3 separate regions of the Homo sapiens genome follow, and all the other regions are linked to region 1. The links are contacts of gene promoters, found by promoter capture Hi-C in blood cells and fetal thymus (Javierre and others, 2016). All regions are on one chromosome and are shown on one strand. Each heading gives the region's core, a stretch centred on a gene start or on the middle of the fragment in contact. The rest is flanking DNA. Distances are from core to core; before and after follow the strand shown. Region 1 holds the start of FKBP14 (FKBP prolyl isomerase 14). Region 2 has its middle 3.3 kb from the start of IMMP2L. Region 3 holds the start of SEC61G (SEC61 translocon subunit gamma).

Region 1 (4,923 bases), core at 177-2,676:
CCCTATTCTTGTTCCAAAGCTGCCTAATTGATCTCACACACTTGAGGTAACCAATAACAGGGCGTAAAGAGATTATTGGAATTTCAGGGTAGAATACTATGAGGCCAGTGTAAACAGATGTTGTCCAGACTCTAAGGTCTCACTATGGAAGTGTTGATCTACTGACCCGGAGCACTGACATCACCTAAGAGCTTGTTAGAAATGCAGAATCTTGCACCCACCCCAGACCTCCAGATCAAAATCTGCATTTTAAACAAGATCTTCAGGGGGATTCCTATGCACATAGAGTGCGGATATGCACTGTGTTAAGGTTATTAGACCAGAAAAAATGTTAACTACAGATTAAGTGGAAAGAGGAGGTGAGAAAAGACTACAATACGATTTAAATCGCTTTAAGTATATGTCACAGAAGCATGCACCAAAATATTAAGAGGATTGTTTGCGGCTGGTGGTGGTATCGGCGAGCTTTCTTTTTCTTTAAAGTTGCCTGATTTAGTAAATAAAAATGCAAAACCATTATTCGTTATGTATCTGAAATTCCAACTTGATTCGACTCCCCAATATTATCTGGAAATCTTACTTTAGTGCTTTCCAATTTCTTCCAAAATGACTTCAATGAACATGCATTACTTTTGAACTTAGGCAAAAAATGTAAAACTAGAAAATGTAAACTACGATGAGGCTGTGTAATTCGTAACCATGATTACCATTTCTTCTTTAAAGCGGAAGTCTGCAAGTCGAAACTCATTATTTACCCTGTAAGGTAACTTAAGGGATAAATTATTAGCAGCCATAACATGACGTGGTGCTGTGGAATGAATCAGACCTGGTTTGAAGGCAGAGCTCATTTGCTTCGGGGCCAAACAACCTTAAGCAGGACAGTTAATATCTCCTGGTGTAAATTTACTTCTCTTTTAAATGGGAAAAAAGAACCTGCCTTACTGGGTGTAGTGAGGTTCATGCAACGGGAACGCGCTTTGTGAACCCTCAAGCAGTATGTCAGTCTTTACAGTTTATAAGCAATAGCAAAATCCTAGGATTGTGGCATCTTGGGGGGCCGCTCTCCAACGGCGAGAGTAAACGAGTCTTTCCTGGAACCCCGAAGATTTCATAGGGCCCCGGGACTCTTCCTACGTCTCTCAGCAGGGTTCTTCACAGAGATAAATCAGCCGGAGGAGTTTCCGGTTGGCTCTGCGCCCCGCCCCTCTCCCAAAATCCACGCTGGTTGAATGCTGAAATCCACCGGGCTCTAGGACCACAAGGGATGATCCGCCGCTTGGCAGCTGCCCGGCTCTACCGGGCTGTAAATTCCATCGTTGCAGCGTCATTGGCTTGAGAGCTGCCTGAAGGACAGCACCAATAGCCAATGGGAGGCTGCTATTCCCAGGCGGCCGCGTTATAAGAGCCAGTCAGGCCGGCATTTGGGCTTAACTCTTTAAAGGTAGGTTCGTGACCCTTGAGAAAAGAGTTGGTGGTAAATGTGCCACGTCTTCTAAGAAGGGGGAGTCCTGAACTTGTCTGAAGCCCTTGTCCGTAAGCCTTGAACTACGTTCTTAAATCTATGAAGTCGAGGGACCTTTCGCTGCTTTTGTAGGGACTTCTTTCCTTGCTTCAGCAACATGAGGCTTTTCTTGTGGAACGCGGTCTTGACTCTGTTCGTCACTTCTTTGATTGGGGCTTTGATCCCTGAACCAGAAGTGAAAATTGAAGTTCTCCAGAAGCCATTCATCTGCCATCGCAAGACCAAAGGAGGGGATTTGATGTTGGTCCACTATGAAGGCTACTTAGAAAAGGACGGCTCCTTATTTCACTCCACGTAAGTAATTATGCCCCGCAGGTAAAATAGTAATTAAGAATCCACTCACTTATGCCAGCTCTCCAGCAGGAAAGGTGGCCTGTACCTGGTTTTGCCTCTTTTACAAAACCGAAATATCTTATTTCCTTCTTTGGGAAAGGAAATTGTTTAAAGCCAGTTTTATATAGCGAGCGAGGCCTTTGAAGGTCTTGTTGGAAACATGTGGTCTGGAAAAGGCTGTTAATTTTTTTTATTATACAAATTAGAACTAGAATCTTTGAAATATTGCAGAAATATATCTGGGTGTATAATTGGCCAATAAGTAGAAAAAGCCCAAAAGAATTCTCATATCTCAAACTCCATTTCTTAAAGAAAATGACTTGATTCCATTTTTAATGTGGTGTAGGTGATGTTCACCTAAAACTTTTCACAGCGACTTCAAAAGCAAACTACACTATCACTTATTTGCCTGTTGAAGGATATACTAATGCCGTTTCACTGACCTACTTCTTTTGTTCTGACGAATGGTATTTTGGTCAAGGCACAGGACCATGATTTCAGTCATTTGCTTCTTTCTAGAGAGTCAGACTTCATTGATGAGGTGGGTGTGGTTTTGGAAGTCTAGGTGAAGGATTTTCAGGTGGTTACACTATCATTTCTGTTCTATAAACGAAGAAATTGGAACATGGAAATGGTTTACAGCCTAATGATTTTCAATTAGGCATCGGTTCCATTCATTCCATTATGACAGTATTTAGTGAGCATTTCCTTGATGTTAAGCCATGTTCTGGGTGCTAGGAAGATTCAGAAATTTTGGCTTCTAATCATCTTCATCTATTCATTAGTCTGTCCATCTATCAAACTCTTATTGAATGGTCACAAGTCAGGTCCTGGAGACGCAAAGATGGCTAGAAGCAGGTTCTTGTCCTCTAACAGTATACACCATCTACAGGTGGGAGAAAGACAAGTAAATAATGCAATGATATAGGGTACAGAATATTCAAAGTGCTAGCAAAGCGTAACTGGGCCTGAAGTAGTTAGGCTCCATGGGGTGGGGAAAGGGAAAGACTTCCCAGAGACCATAATTGAAATGAACCTTGGAAGATGGGTGGAGGTTTCCAGGGGGAAAGTAGGGAAGGATGTTGTAGGTAGAGGGAATAACATGAATTAAAACAGTAAATCTTCATAGCCCATCCTCCACCTGATTTTCTAATAAACTGCCTTTACTGGGCATTCAGACCTGGTCTGTCTTGAGGGTTGGGGAAATGAATGGGGCTCTTCTCTAAACTGTTAGCCCTGGGAAAAAGTTCCAGAAAAATGGCTTGCCTTAGAATTCTCAACAGCCCTTTCTTCTTGTCAACTAGGTGAGTGCCACGGTGGATATTAAATGATGTGATTTGCATTTTGAAAATTCAGTTATATTGTTATTTTTAGTCTGATCTCTTTTAGACTCAGCCTGACTTCTTTCAGATTTCTGAACCAAAAACCTGTGCTGACTTTGGTGGTAGCCATGGAATATTATTTAGCAGTTTGCTACTAAGTTCTAATACCTGATGAGGGGACTGTTATCATGCAGCCTCCATGTAAATGGTCAGAAGCTGCTAACTGTAAACTTCATGAAGAAATACCATCAAATTGGCTGGGCGTGGTGGCTCACGCCTGTAATCCCAGCACTTTGGGAGGCCGAGGCAGGCAGATCGCGAGGTCAGGAGTTTGAGACCATCCTGGCCAACATGGTGAAACCCCGTCTCTACTAAAAATACAAAAGTTATCTGGGCGTGGTGGGCACCTGTAATCCCAGCTACTCAGGAGGCTGAGGCAGGAGAATCGCTTGAACCCAGGAGGCGGAGGCTGCAGTGAGCCAAGATTGCGCCGCTGCACTCCAGCCTGGGCAACAGAGCGAGACTCCGCTCTGAAGAAAAAGAAATACCATCAAATGATCAGTTTGTAAGCACGTTTGCCATCTCTAGAACCATAGCCTATGGGATAAATTGCTTAGCCCTAAGAAGAACTGTGCTAAAATTGTAGTCAGTGATGAGTAGTAGAATGTTTCCTGCTTCTTTTTTCATTTCTAGCCTTCCCAAATTTTCTACAGTTGGCATTTTGTTACTTTGATCATTGGGCAAAATTACAGGAAAAAATGGCATTACCCAGATTTAGTAACCATGGTACTCATGAAGCGTAGTACAGTGACTTCTTTTTCTCACCTACAAGATATCCTTGAATAGAATATTTTCCTTATTGCACTGAAAGGGAGCTAGGTAGGGATCAGGCATTACTCAGCCCTTAAGCCTCCCTGTATGTAGTTCGGCAGGTTGGTTTTCCTAGGCTAGACTCTCTTCAACTCATGAGCCAGGACATTCTATTTCCCTCGTCCCCAGTTGATAGGGTTCCGCTATGGCCCCACCCAATTCTCATCTTAAATTGTAGCTACCATAATCCCCACATGTTGTGGAAGGGACCTGGTGGGAGGTAATCGAATCATGAGGGCAGGTTTTTCCCATGCTGTTCTCCTTGTGATAGTAAATAAGTCTCACGAGATCTGATGGTTTTATAAAAGGCAGCTCCTCTGCACACTCATTCTTGCCTGCTACCATGTAAGACGTGCCTTTGCTCCTCCTTTGCCTTCCGCCATGATTGTGAGACCTCCCCAGCCATGTGGAACCGCGAGTCCATTAAACCTCCTTTTCTTTATAAGTTACCCAGTCTTGAATATTTCTTCATAGCAGTATGAAAATGGACTAACACACCAGTCCTTGAGGGGCTACTCTTCCAGACTTTCCTATATAGCCCCACTGTAGACCCCTGAGGAGGAAACTGGGCTAGGGTCTGAGTGGGGATTTAGGGATGAAAAGCAGCCTTTTCTACCCGTCAGAGCCATCAGCAGGCCATAGCTAAGGCAAGTTTGTAGGCAGGATATAAGACACTGTGCTTCTCACTCTTCATATCTGTGTGCATATGGACCCACATATGTTGGCAGTAAATTCTCCTTAGCCTTTCAATCTCCTTCCCAAACTCAGCCATTTTTCCATTATTTTCTCCTTGTTCTGCAACCTAGTGGCCTTCCTGGGACAACATAACTTTGTGATTAAGACCTTGAACTTTGGAGTTAGGTTTAAAGACTGGAA
Region 2 (4,923 bases), core at 1,448-3,947, about 82 Mb before region 1:
TAAATTCCAGAGAGTATGTCATTTAACTTCAACATACTTCAGAATGCCTCTCCAAAAATTATGGACATTTTCTTACATAATCACAATGCCATTATTACACCTAATAAAATAATATTTCTTTGGTATCATCTAACACCAGTCCATAGTTAAATGTCCGTGATTGTCTTACAAGTCTTTATAGTTGTGATGTTTCAATCAGGATCCAAATAAAGGTTCACATCTTACATTTCATGGCTGTATTTTTTTTAACCTAGGCTTCTCCTGACCCATTCCCTCTCCTGTGTGTCCAGTTATTAACTTGTTGTAGAGACTACATCAATTGTCCTAGAGAGTGTCCTCCATTCTACTCCATTCTAGATTTACCTGTTTCCTTCTTTGTGGCATCTTTTTTTCTTTTTTTTTGAGACAGGGTCTCACCCTGTCATCCAGGCTGGAGTGCAGTGGTGCCATCTTGGCTCACTGTAACCTCCGCTTCCCGGGTTCAAGCGATTCTCCTGCCTCAGCCTCCTGAGTAGCTGGGATTATAGGCACGCACCACCATGCCTGGCTCATTGTTTATTTTTAGTAGAGACAGGGTTTCACCATGTTACCCAGGGTGGTCTTGAACTCCTGGCCCCAAGTGATCCACCTTCCTCGACCTCCCAAAGTGCTGGGATTATAGGTGCGAGCCACTGCGCCCAGCCTCTTTGTGGTGTCATTTAACTTATTCCTGTAACCCTCATGTTTTTTGTAAGCCTGTAAGTGAGAAGTCAGTTTTAAGGCTTGATTAGATCCCATTCATGTTTTTTGGGTGATAACATTTCATAGTTGTGCTGAGTGCTTCAGATGGCATTAGATCAGGAAGCACACAATGTCTGGAGTCCCACTTGTAATGACAGATTATTAGGCTGAGGTAGTGACGGTCTGATCTCCATTGTGAAGTTCCTCATGAACATTTCATCTGTTGGTTTGATCCATTGATGATGGTTGCCTGAATCATTTATTAAATGCAAGATTGCTAAATGGTGGGTTTCCAATTCTGTTGTTTCATATTTATTATAAAAAACAACTTTCCCTCAACACCAATTTGGTTTTCTGATATATAGTTTAATCAGGAAAGATACATCAGAAAATTTGAATTATTTTCTTTTAATGGACAATTTTAGAATAAGGGCTTAATGCTAGCTACTTGCAATAGTGTCCAGTGGATTTTTTTTTTCCTTTTATTGACCTCCCCTTTTTGGAACATCATTAAGAACTCATGAATTTTTATATATTCAGTATGTTTCTAACAACTGCATCCATTACTTTTTTTGATGCTTAAATTGTCCATCTTTGGCCAAAGGAGCTATTTGATATTGGTTTCTGTGTCCCTTTGACACATTTTGTTGTTAATGGATTCCCGGCTTTGTGGGACAAGTTATCCTATGCTCATCTTGTGTATAACCTGACCCAGATCTGAAGTCAGACATTTGGTTGGTCAGCTCTAGTTTCTTTTAGTTGGAAATTGTATTAAAAAACCCCAAACTGGATGATTTACATTATTTTTATTTGTAATAAAAATGAAAGGTTATATATTTAAAATTTTATTCCAAGGTAGTAAGTTTAGAATCAAGTATTTAGTTCATAAATAAAACTGTAATTGCTTGTTTTGTTTTTGTTTTAAGCTCGCTTTTAAATTATTTTTATAAAAGGGGATATACCTTGTTATAAGCATACCTAAAATTGGATTAATAACTATATACCAATCTTACATTTTTTCCAGATGGTACAATTTATATTCAAAATTTTCCAAAACGTTTGAGATGAAGGATATAAATGAAATCTCAAGTGTTTTCATATCAATTCAAATAATAATATCAATTTCATCAGAGTTGCTATAGTAAAAGCTTTTAAAAACTTTATTGAAATGTCATGGTTTGATATGAGCTGACAAATATGAGTTTTAGCTTGAAATAAGTAAAGGGCTATAATTTCAGGTGTTAACAGAAGCCTGTGTGGAAATATATGACATTCAAACAAATGAAATGCAAAAGGCCATTTGGCAGTAATTCTCCAAGTGAGGTTTGAGAACACCTAGGGGTTACTGAAACCCTTCCCGGAGCTTTGTAAGGTCCTCTCTTTTTCAACTATGAATTCGTATGACAGTTAATTTTCTTCATATCTTAGGTATAACAACATATCACAACAGCCTGAATGCAGAGGCAGAATATGAGAATCCAGTGCTCTCCTTAAGCCAGATAATAAGAGATTTATAAAATGTTAAAAATGCCACTTTTCTCTAATTTTTTGGAAAAAAAGTAGTCATTATTTATAAAAATAACTTTTACAGTAACATGTAATGGGTTTAAATTAAGCAAACACATGTCTAACATTTTTCTATCTTAAATTTTAATACAGTAAATATGGACATATATAACCCACATAAACAACAGCTCTTTAAAGTTCTCAATCATTTTTAAGAATGTAAAGAGAACTTGAGATCAAAAAGTAGTTTGAGAACTGCTACTCTATGATACCTTCTATTATTTGCTTACCAATGGTAAGTATGTATAGATAGGAATATATTTTAATATCTATATTTGTGGAATCTGTAAACTTAATTATTTTAACTTTGTTTAAATATCTCTTTGACCATTAGATTTGATGCCTAACTATAGTTTAAATTTGTACCTTAGTTAGGACTTTATGATTCATTTTCCCCTGATGGTATTAACAACAAATAGAGGTCTGCTTTAATATATAAGGAGACAAGGCAAATATATTTGAACTAGATACATAAAGCCAAATATTCAGCTTAGAATTTAATTGATAAATTAGAATAAAATAGGATGCTCTAACTGCTGCTTCTTTTTCTCATAAACTTTTTTCTCCCAAAGATCAGTTTCAGGTTCAGAGCAAAATTGAGCAGGAAGTATAGGGTTCCTATATATTCCTGTACCCCACATCTGCACAGCCTCCCTGACTATGAATATCCTGTACCAGAGCAGTATATTTGTTACAATTGATGAACTTACATTGACATCATTATCACCCAAAGTTGAGATTTTATATTAAGGCTCCCTCTTTGGGTTGTATATTTTATGGGTTTGGACAAATGTATAATGACATGCATCACCATTATCATATCATACAGAATAGTTTCACTGCCCTAAAAATCTGTGCTTCATATCCCCCTCCTCTGTGACCTCTGGCAATCACTGATCTTTTTACTGTCTCCATATGTGATGGTTAATACTGAGTGTCAGCTTGAATGTATTGAAGGATAGAAAGTATTGATCCTGGGTGTGTCTATGAGGGTGTTGCCAAGGAGATTAACATTTGAGTCAGTGGGCTGGGAAAGGCAGACCCACCTTTAATTGGGTGGGCACCATCTAATAAGCTGCCAGTGAATATAAAGCAGGCAGAAAAACATGAAAAGGAGAGACTGGCCTAGTCTCTCAGCCTACAGCTTTCTCCTGTGCTGGACGCTTACTGCCCTCAAACATCGGATTCAAAGTTCTTCAATTTTGAGACTCGGACTGGCTCTCTTGCTCCTCAAGCTTGCAGACAGCCTATTGTGGGACTTTGTCATCATGTAAGTTAATACTTAATAAACTCCTCTTTATATTTATATGTCTATCCTATTGGTTCTGTCCCTCTAGGAAACCCTGACTAATATACCATAGTTCTGCCCTTTCCAGATATTAGCTTCTTTTTAAGTACACTTGATGAATCTTAGTGATAAAATCAGGCCAGACCTAGCAACTCTTTTTGTATGTTTATTGACTTCCCAATACAATAAAGGCCATAAACACCTGTCTTTGTTGTTTATTCACCTACATTCCATCCCAGACTGTCAGTTCCTAGTGACCAGGAGCTCCATTCAATTTGGGGTCATGGTACCAAATAGTTCTTGACTGCTATTTGATGAGGGTGGTCCTGTCACCTAAGTGCTCTTGAAATTAAGTCCTTAAGCACTGGCCGAAAAGAGCTTACTTTGCAGTAATTATTTCAGTGACAAGTAAGAAAAACTGGGACATATCCCCTTCACAGGAGAGCAATTTTGCTCTCTTTAGGAAACTCTTGGAATTTTAGTTATCAGGCTATTTAAGACCCTGAGTAGATTCTTAAACCTTTAGAATAAATTTTGAACCAAGAGTGCCAGAATGTCTGTTATTTACATTAGTATTAAGTGATCTGAAAGTGCACAGAGTAGTTTGGCAGTATCTAGAGGGAGAATAGAGACAGAAATAATGAAGATACAACTGGAGGAGTAAGAAAAGGAGAAAAAAAGTATTTTATGTCTGTTCAGTATTTCTAGGTGCCACTGCTGCTAAATGCCTGGGCTTCAGCCTAGGTTGGGTTGCTCCTAGCAAAGAAAACCAGTCCCTGAGACAACGAGTATTGCCAGGGAAGACAGGCTTTAATGCAGGTGATGCTGGCAGGGAGACCAGTCTCAAACATGTCTTAGGGAGACTAAAGTTAGGGCTTTCTATAGCAGGGAATTATGGAGGGGTAAGGAAGAGGAGTTTGTGAACAGGCAGCAGATGCACCTCATTGTCCAGATGTAGTGTTCTGGAAAGTTGCATTTCCTTGACACTATCTGGGAGGTCTGACAGTTTATCTGCTGAGAAAGGAACTCAGGTAAAATGCACGCAAGTTTCTCAAGTTTCACTTCGAAGGGAAAATTTGGCCGGTTTCGGTCTTCCCTTTCTATTTATCAATTCCTCAATCATGCGGAATCTGGTAGTTGATCTTTCTGGCTGCTTCACGTGAAGGAAGGGCATCTTGGGATGATATGGAATGAAAATATCGCACCTGTAATTGCAAGTACTTACGAGTACCTGGTTGGCATCCAGCTTGTTGGAGCACCATGATTTGGGTACTTTCATCAACATTTTAAACCACATTGAATTAGGATAATTAATAACATGGATAAGAAGGTTTCTTTGTAGGTTGTAA
Region 3 (4,923 bases), core at 709-3,208, about 25 Mb before region 1:
AGGTGGTGTATATATGCTTCATATTATGATAAACTACTAAACTTTTCCCAAAAGGGTTATGCCATTTTACACTCCTAGTAACCAGGAATTAGAGTTCTAGAGTTCTGATTGTTACGTATTTTTGCACAGATTTGCTGTTATCAGCCTGTTTTTTTTTTTTTTTTTTTTTACAGACGGAGTCTTGCTCTGTTGCCCAGGCTGGAGTGCAGTCGTGTGACCTCAGCTCACTGCAACCTCCACCTCCCGGGTTCAAGGGATTCTCTTGCCTCAGCCTCCTGAGTAGCTAGGGTTACAGGCATGCGACACCATTCCAGACTAATTTTTGTATTTTTAGTGGAGACGGGGTTTCTCCACGTTGGTCTGGCTGGTCTCAAACTCCCGAAATCAGGTGAGTAGACAATTATAACAATACACTGTAATGAAAGTTATTTGAATGTGGCCTCTCCCAGATTACCTTCTGGTACACATCTCTTTTTGAACCAGATTTTCTTGGATAAGGGGAACCACTGTATGTGTTACTTGATTTTCTGTGTTTTGCTGAAAATACTGTCAACTCAGACATTTGGTGGTTGGGGTGAACTTGCCAACATGTGATTTTATGTTTTTTTGGAATGAATTATTTTTTTGAAAATTATTTATTGAGCATTTACTGTGTTTAGCACTTTACTAGATGCTATATTATACCCACTTGGAGCTTATGGTCTAGTAAGGGGATTTACAGTGTAGGGAGACAGACCGAGGAATAAATAAATAAATGTTAATACAAATGCTATGCAGCAAATGAAGAAGGTATTGTGAAAAAGGAAAAAAGAGCATGAGATAGACAGGATTGCCTTAGATGGTCACTATAGGCCTCTAAGGAGATGACACATGGGCTGAAGTCCCAGGGATGAAGAACTAGTCAAACGCATCTCAGTCTGTTCAGAATTTAAAAGTGACTCTTAAAGCTAAGGCAAGGTATGTGTAGTGTGTATGGACCACCTACAGTCAGATATACGGAGGTGTGTGACCTCTAACCCTGACCCACTGAATCAATATCTGGAGGTTCTGGGGTTACAAATTTCATTTACTAAAAAACTTAACAGGAGATTTCAGTTACTGAAGAAGTTTAAGAAGCACTGAGAGTTGTAACACGTCTTAATGTTCCATCAGCTCTTCCTGAGTTATATTGTTCCTCAGATCCCGTTATGCTCCATTGCTAAAAGGAAACATGGCCGGGCGCGGTGGCTCACGTCTGTAATCCCAGCACTTTGGGAGGCCGAGGCGGGTGGATCGCGAGGTCAGGAGTTCAAGACCAGCCTGGCCAATATGGTGAAACCCCGTCTCTACTGACGGTTTCAGCCATCCGGCGGGGGGTTCCTGGAATGCATCCTTGTGGGTAAGTGGGGAGCTGTGTGTACATTATGACCACTCCCGTAACCAAACCTAGCGTTTGACAAAGGCCTCAATTACAGCGGCATTCATTACCGTGAATGACAGCCAAAGTCAAAGTTTGGGGTGGGGATACTATTTTGAATTAGGCCATAACATTATATTGCTCATAAGCTTCATTTCGACCAACATTATATACATACAAAAAGTATGTACCGTAAGGACACACATCAAGCTGGACCGCAGGAAAAAAAACCACAACTTAGGATTTACCTAGTCAGCCGCTACTAGAGAGCAAGCACCGCGCAAGGCCGCTGGGGCTCGTGCTGTGGACGTGAGTGGGTTGAGGTCGGGCTGGTGGGGTAACCCGGGATCCAGCCGGAAAAAAGGGATAACGCTAGACTCACACTCCTAAGGAAGGCCAACGCCCCAACTAGCGAGCTCCGCAATGCATCTCTTCCAGGAAGCGTGGCCGGGCGCACGTCGCGCTGCGCTTGCGCACTGAGGTTTCGCGTAAGGAACCAATAGGACGGAGGAGTGGGCGGGCTGTTGGCAGAAACCCGGATTCCGGTTCCGGTGGGCCTCCATCAGCAAGCTCCAGTGCTACGTGTCCCTGGCATTTTAGGTGTCGGTTGGGTAGGTGAGTTTCTTCCCACCGGTCGGTACGGGCGAACGGGGCGGCCACACCTTTGCGACTCTTGGGGGCAGCGGGCGTGGGCGAGCCGGCGTGTCTCCCCGGGCGGCCGTCGCGGGGCGGGCGGTAAGTGGTCCCCTGGCTCAGGGCCGGGGTCTGGCCGCCGACATCCCACCAACTCGGCCTCTGGCGGAAGGCAGACCCAGGGCCGCGGACTCCCGGCGAGCTGGGTGGCCGGCCCGCGGGGCTCCAGGGCTTAGCGTCCTGCCCCGGCGTCTTCTGTGCTGCAGCCAAAGATGATGTCCTGCTGCCCGATCCCTTCGGGGTTGGCTCTGTGTGCTGTTGTGGAGTCCTGTCTGGGAAGAGCTGTACTCAGCTCTGGTCCTGCCGCCGCTTCCGTGGTTTAAAGTGAGAGCATTGGTCTAGAGTCTAGTTCGAGAGATCATAGTTGGTTTTTGGATCTCTACCCCTGACATTGAGTGCGGTATTGTGTGTAGCGTGCGTTTTTCTGGATAAAGAATTCTTAGCTTCCTTCGTGACAACTATGATTACAAAAAGTTTAAGCCCTTTGGATTTCAAGAGCAAAGTTGAGTGAAATACTGAGAAAACAGACATTACTGTGTTTTTGCCCCCAGAACGTTGCAGAATTCCTGGTGTTTCATTGACATTATTTCATTTCGTTGTCCACACCCTACACTAAGGAAGGCAACTGGGGCTTACAGAGGTTTACATTCCATAGCCAGTGATTTGAACTACCACCTGGCCACTGTTCTGAGTACTGGAAATGGAGGAAAATACAAATAACACCCTGGCTGCTTTACTTACTATAGCAGTGGCTCTCAAAGCTAAGATCGGATAACATTTCTATTGGGTAATAGATTCCTCAAAAGAACCTGTATGGTAAAATATATAGCCCTGTTTCCTTAAAAGATGTGTTCAAATCGAAAAGTTTGAAATTTAGCTAGTAGCTTCTCAGAATTTGCGTCTTCCTTTAGCCATTCTTTATACTTTAGAAAAGTATGTTGTATTGGCACGTTTTAGAAAAATCAAGGTTGAAATTCACGTTTGCCTCTATTCTAGGCTCTTGCAGCACCGTAGTTGGCATTCACTGTACAAGACACTGGCTTCTGCGTAGTTTAAAATAAAATATGGAAAGTAATTGTTGGATCTCAACACTGATGGTTCCTTAGGAGCGGTGAGGGGACTGTAGAATGAGAAATGGATGGGACTGCAGAGTGAGAAAAGGAATGGATGTGTTACCAATTGCGTAACCTTTTTTAACCTTTTAATAGAGATAGGCTTTTTATATTGCGTGTGCTGTTCTTTGTCAGTGAAGATATCATGAGTAAGATCTGTGCTTTTCTTATTGCCTTTGATAATTAACTGAAATTTCCAAAAATAATATCAATTTAGGCTTTGGAGTTTGTTTTTTGTTTTATTTTAGGAGGTGGAATTGACCCATGTTAGACGTGAATTCAGTGGCTGGTCTCATTTACATCTTTATATAAATGAGCAAGTGCTTATTGTATGAGAACCAATACCAGTGAGTATCTTTTTTGTTTTAAACAGGCAGTCATGGATCAGGTAATGCAGTTTGTTGAGCCAAGTCGGCAGTTTGTAAAGGACTCCATTCGGCTGGTTAAAAGATGCACTAAACCTGATAGAAAAGGTAATTGCTTGACTATGAGAGAAAAAATTAAATCTTTGCATTTTCTAAGCCTTTTGTTTGATTAACATCTTGATTAATAGCCCTTGCATTACTTTGATCAACATTTTTATTGATTGATCCTGCGCGACAGCTTTTTAACGTTGTCACTTCTTCCTAAATTTTTTACTCGTCTAAATTTTTATGTATTTTCAAATGGTGTAAGATTATTTATTACAGCCTTATGTTCCATGTAACATTTTAGTTAGTAACATTTTATGACTTTTAGTATCTTACATATTTTCTCTTTGGAAAAGCTTTGAAGTCTCCCTACTCAGCTCCCACCCCAACGAACAAAACCTTAACATGAAACCAACAATATAGTTTTTGCCAAACTAGAAAGTTAATTTTGTTATTTATCATGATTCATGTGTTAAATTTGTCTACTTTTATTCATTCATTGAGTTAGGAGCTGGTAATATAATAGAGAATATAACATGTATATAATATAGTATATAGTATATAATATAGTATATAGTATATAGTATATATAGTATATAGTATATATATAGTATAGTATATAGTATATAATATAGTATATAACATGTATATATTATAGTAAAGAGAATAGTCCTTGCTGTCATGGAGCTTAGACTCTTACCAAGGAAGACTGTCATAAACAAATTATTGCGGTTATATTTTTTAATTACTGCTGTGTTAAGTATTATGGAAGATAACTAGAAGGAAGTTTGACAGCACATAATAGGAGGACTAACCAAGTCAGGAGATCAGGGAAAGCTTCTCTTAGGAAGTAACATAAAATGACAACATTACCAGTGTAATGTTTTATAAAATTGTGCTCAACTCAGACAGAGTCTCACTCTGTTGCCCAGGCTGAAGTGCAGTGACGCGATCTCGGCTCACTGCAACCTCCGCCTCCTGGGTTCAAGCAATTCTGCCTCAGCCTCCTGAGTAGCTGGGATTACAGGCATGCGCCACCACGCCCGGCTAATTTTTGTATTTTTAGTGGAGCCAGGGTTTCACCATGTTGGCCAGGCTGGTCTTAAACTCCTGACCTCGGGTGATCTGCCCACTTCGGCCTCCCAAAGTGCTGAGATTACAGGCACAAGCCACTGGGCCCAGCCCAGTTTGATTTTTCAAGTCTTATTTTTGGCTTCATCATAATAGCAAAGGCACCGGACCCATCGTTTATAATGTACCCAAAAAAGGTATGTTTCTGCCCATATAATTGATATGTTATGATAAAAATTAC

What was found. Contacts are between HindIII fragments. The CHiCAGO score rates a contact against its expected background, and 5 or more counts as called.
Region 2: a fragment that was not itself captured here is called in contact with the fragment with the promoter of FKBP14 in region 1 in 1 of 17 cell types (activated CD4 T cells); the score reaches 7.3 in activated CD4 T cells.
Region 3: the fragment with the promoter of SEC61G here is called in contact with the fragment with the promoter of FKBP14 in region 1 in 1 of 17 cell types (total CD4 T cells); the score reaches 8.6 in total CD4 T cells.

The regions. Positions count from the first base shown.
Region 1 is chr7:30,023,205-30,028,127 of GRCh38, reverse strand. It overlaps FKBP14 (FKBP prolyl isomerase 14), which reads left to right and starts at 1,426. Exons shown (of 4, transcript NM_017946.4): 1 at 1,426-1,816. The coding sequence starts at 1,620. It overlaps FKBP14-AS1 (FKBP14 antisense RNA 1), which reads right to left. Exons shown (of 3, transcript NR_187577.1): 3 at 887-2,741. RefSeq lists an enhancer at 1,021-1,170. The HindIII fragment of the contact is 9,298 bases long and covers 1-4,923 here.
Region 2 is chr7:111,563,316-111,568,238 of GRCh38, reverse strand. No RefSeq gene overlaps it. Among named protein-coding and RNA genes, the nearest start is that of IMMP2L, 3.3 kb to the right of the region's middle. The HindIII fragment of the contact is 1,653 bases long and covers 1,871-3,523 here.
Region 3 is chr7:54,756,246-54,761,168 of GRCh38, reverse strand. SEC61G (SEC61 translocon subunit gamma) reads left to right here and starts at 1,958. Exons shown (of 4, transcript NM_014302.4): 1 at 1,958-2,011; 2 at 3,575-3,674. The coding sequence starts at 3,581. SEC61G-DT (SEC61G divergent transcript) reads right to left here and starts at 1,856. Exons shown (of 3, transcript NR_110040.1): 1 at 1,645-1,856. RefSeq lists an enhancer at 820-1,755 and a silencer at 1,989-2,308. The HindIII fragment of the contact is 2,422 bases long and covers 1,548-3,969 here.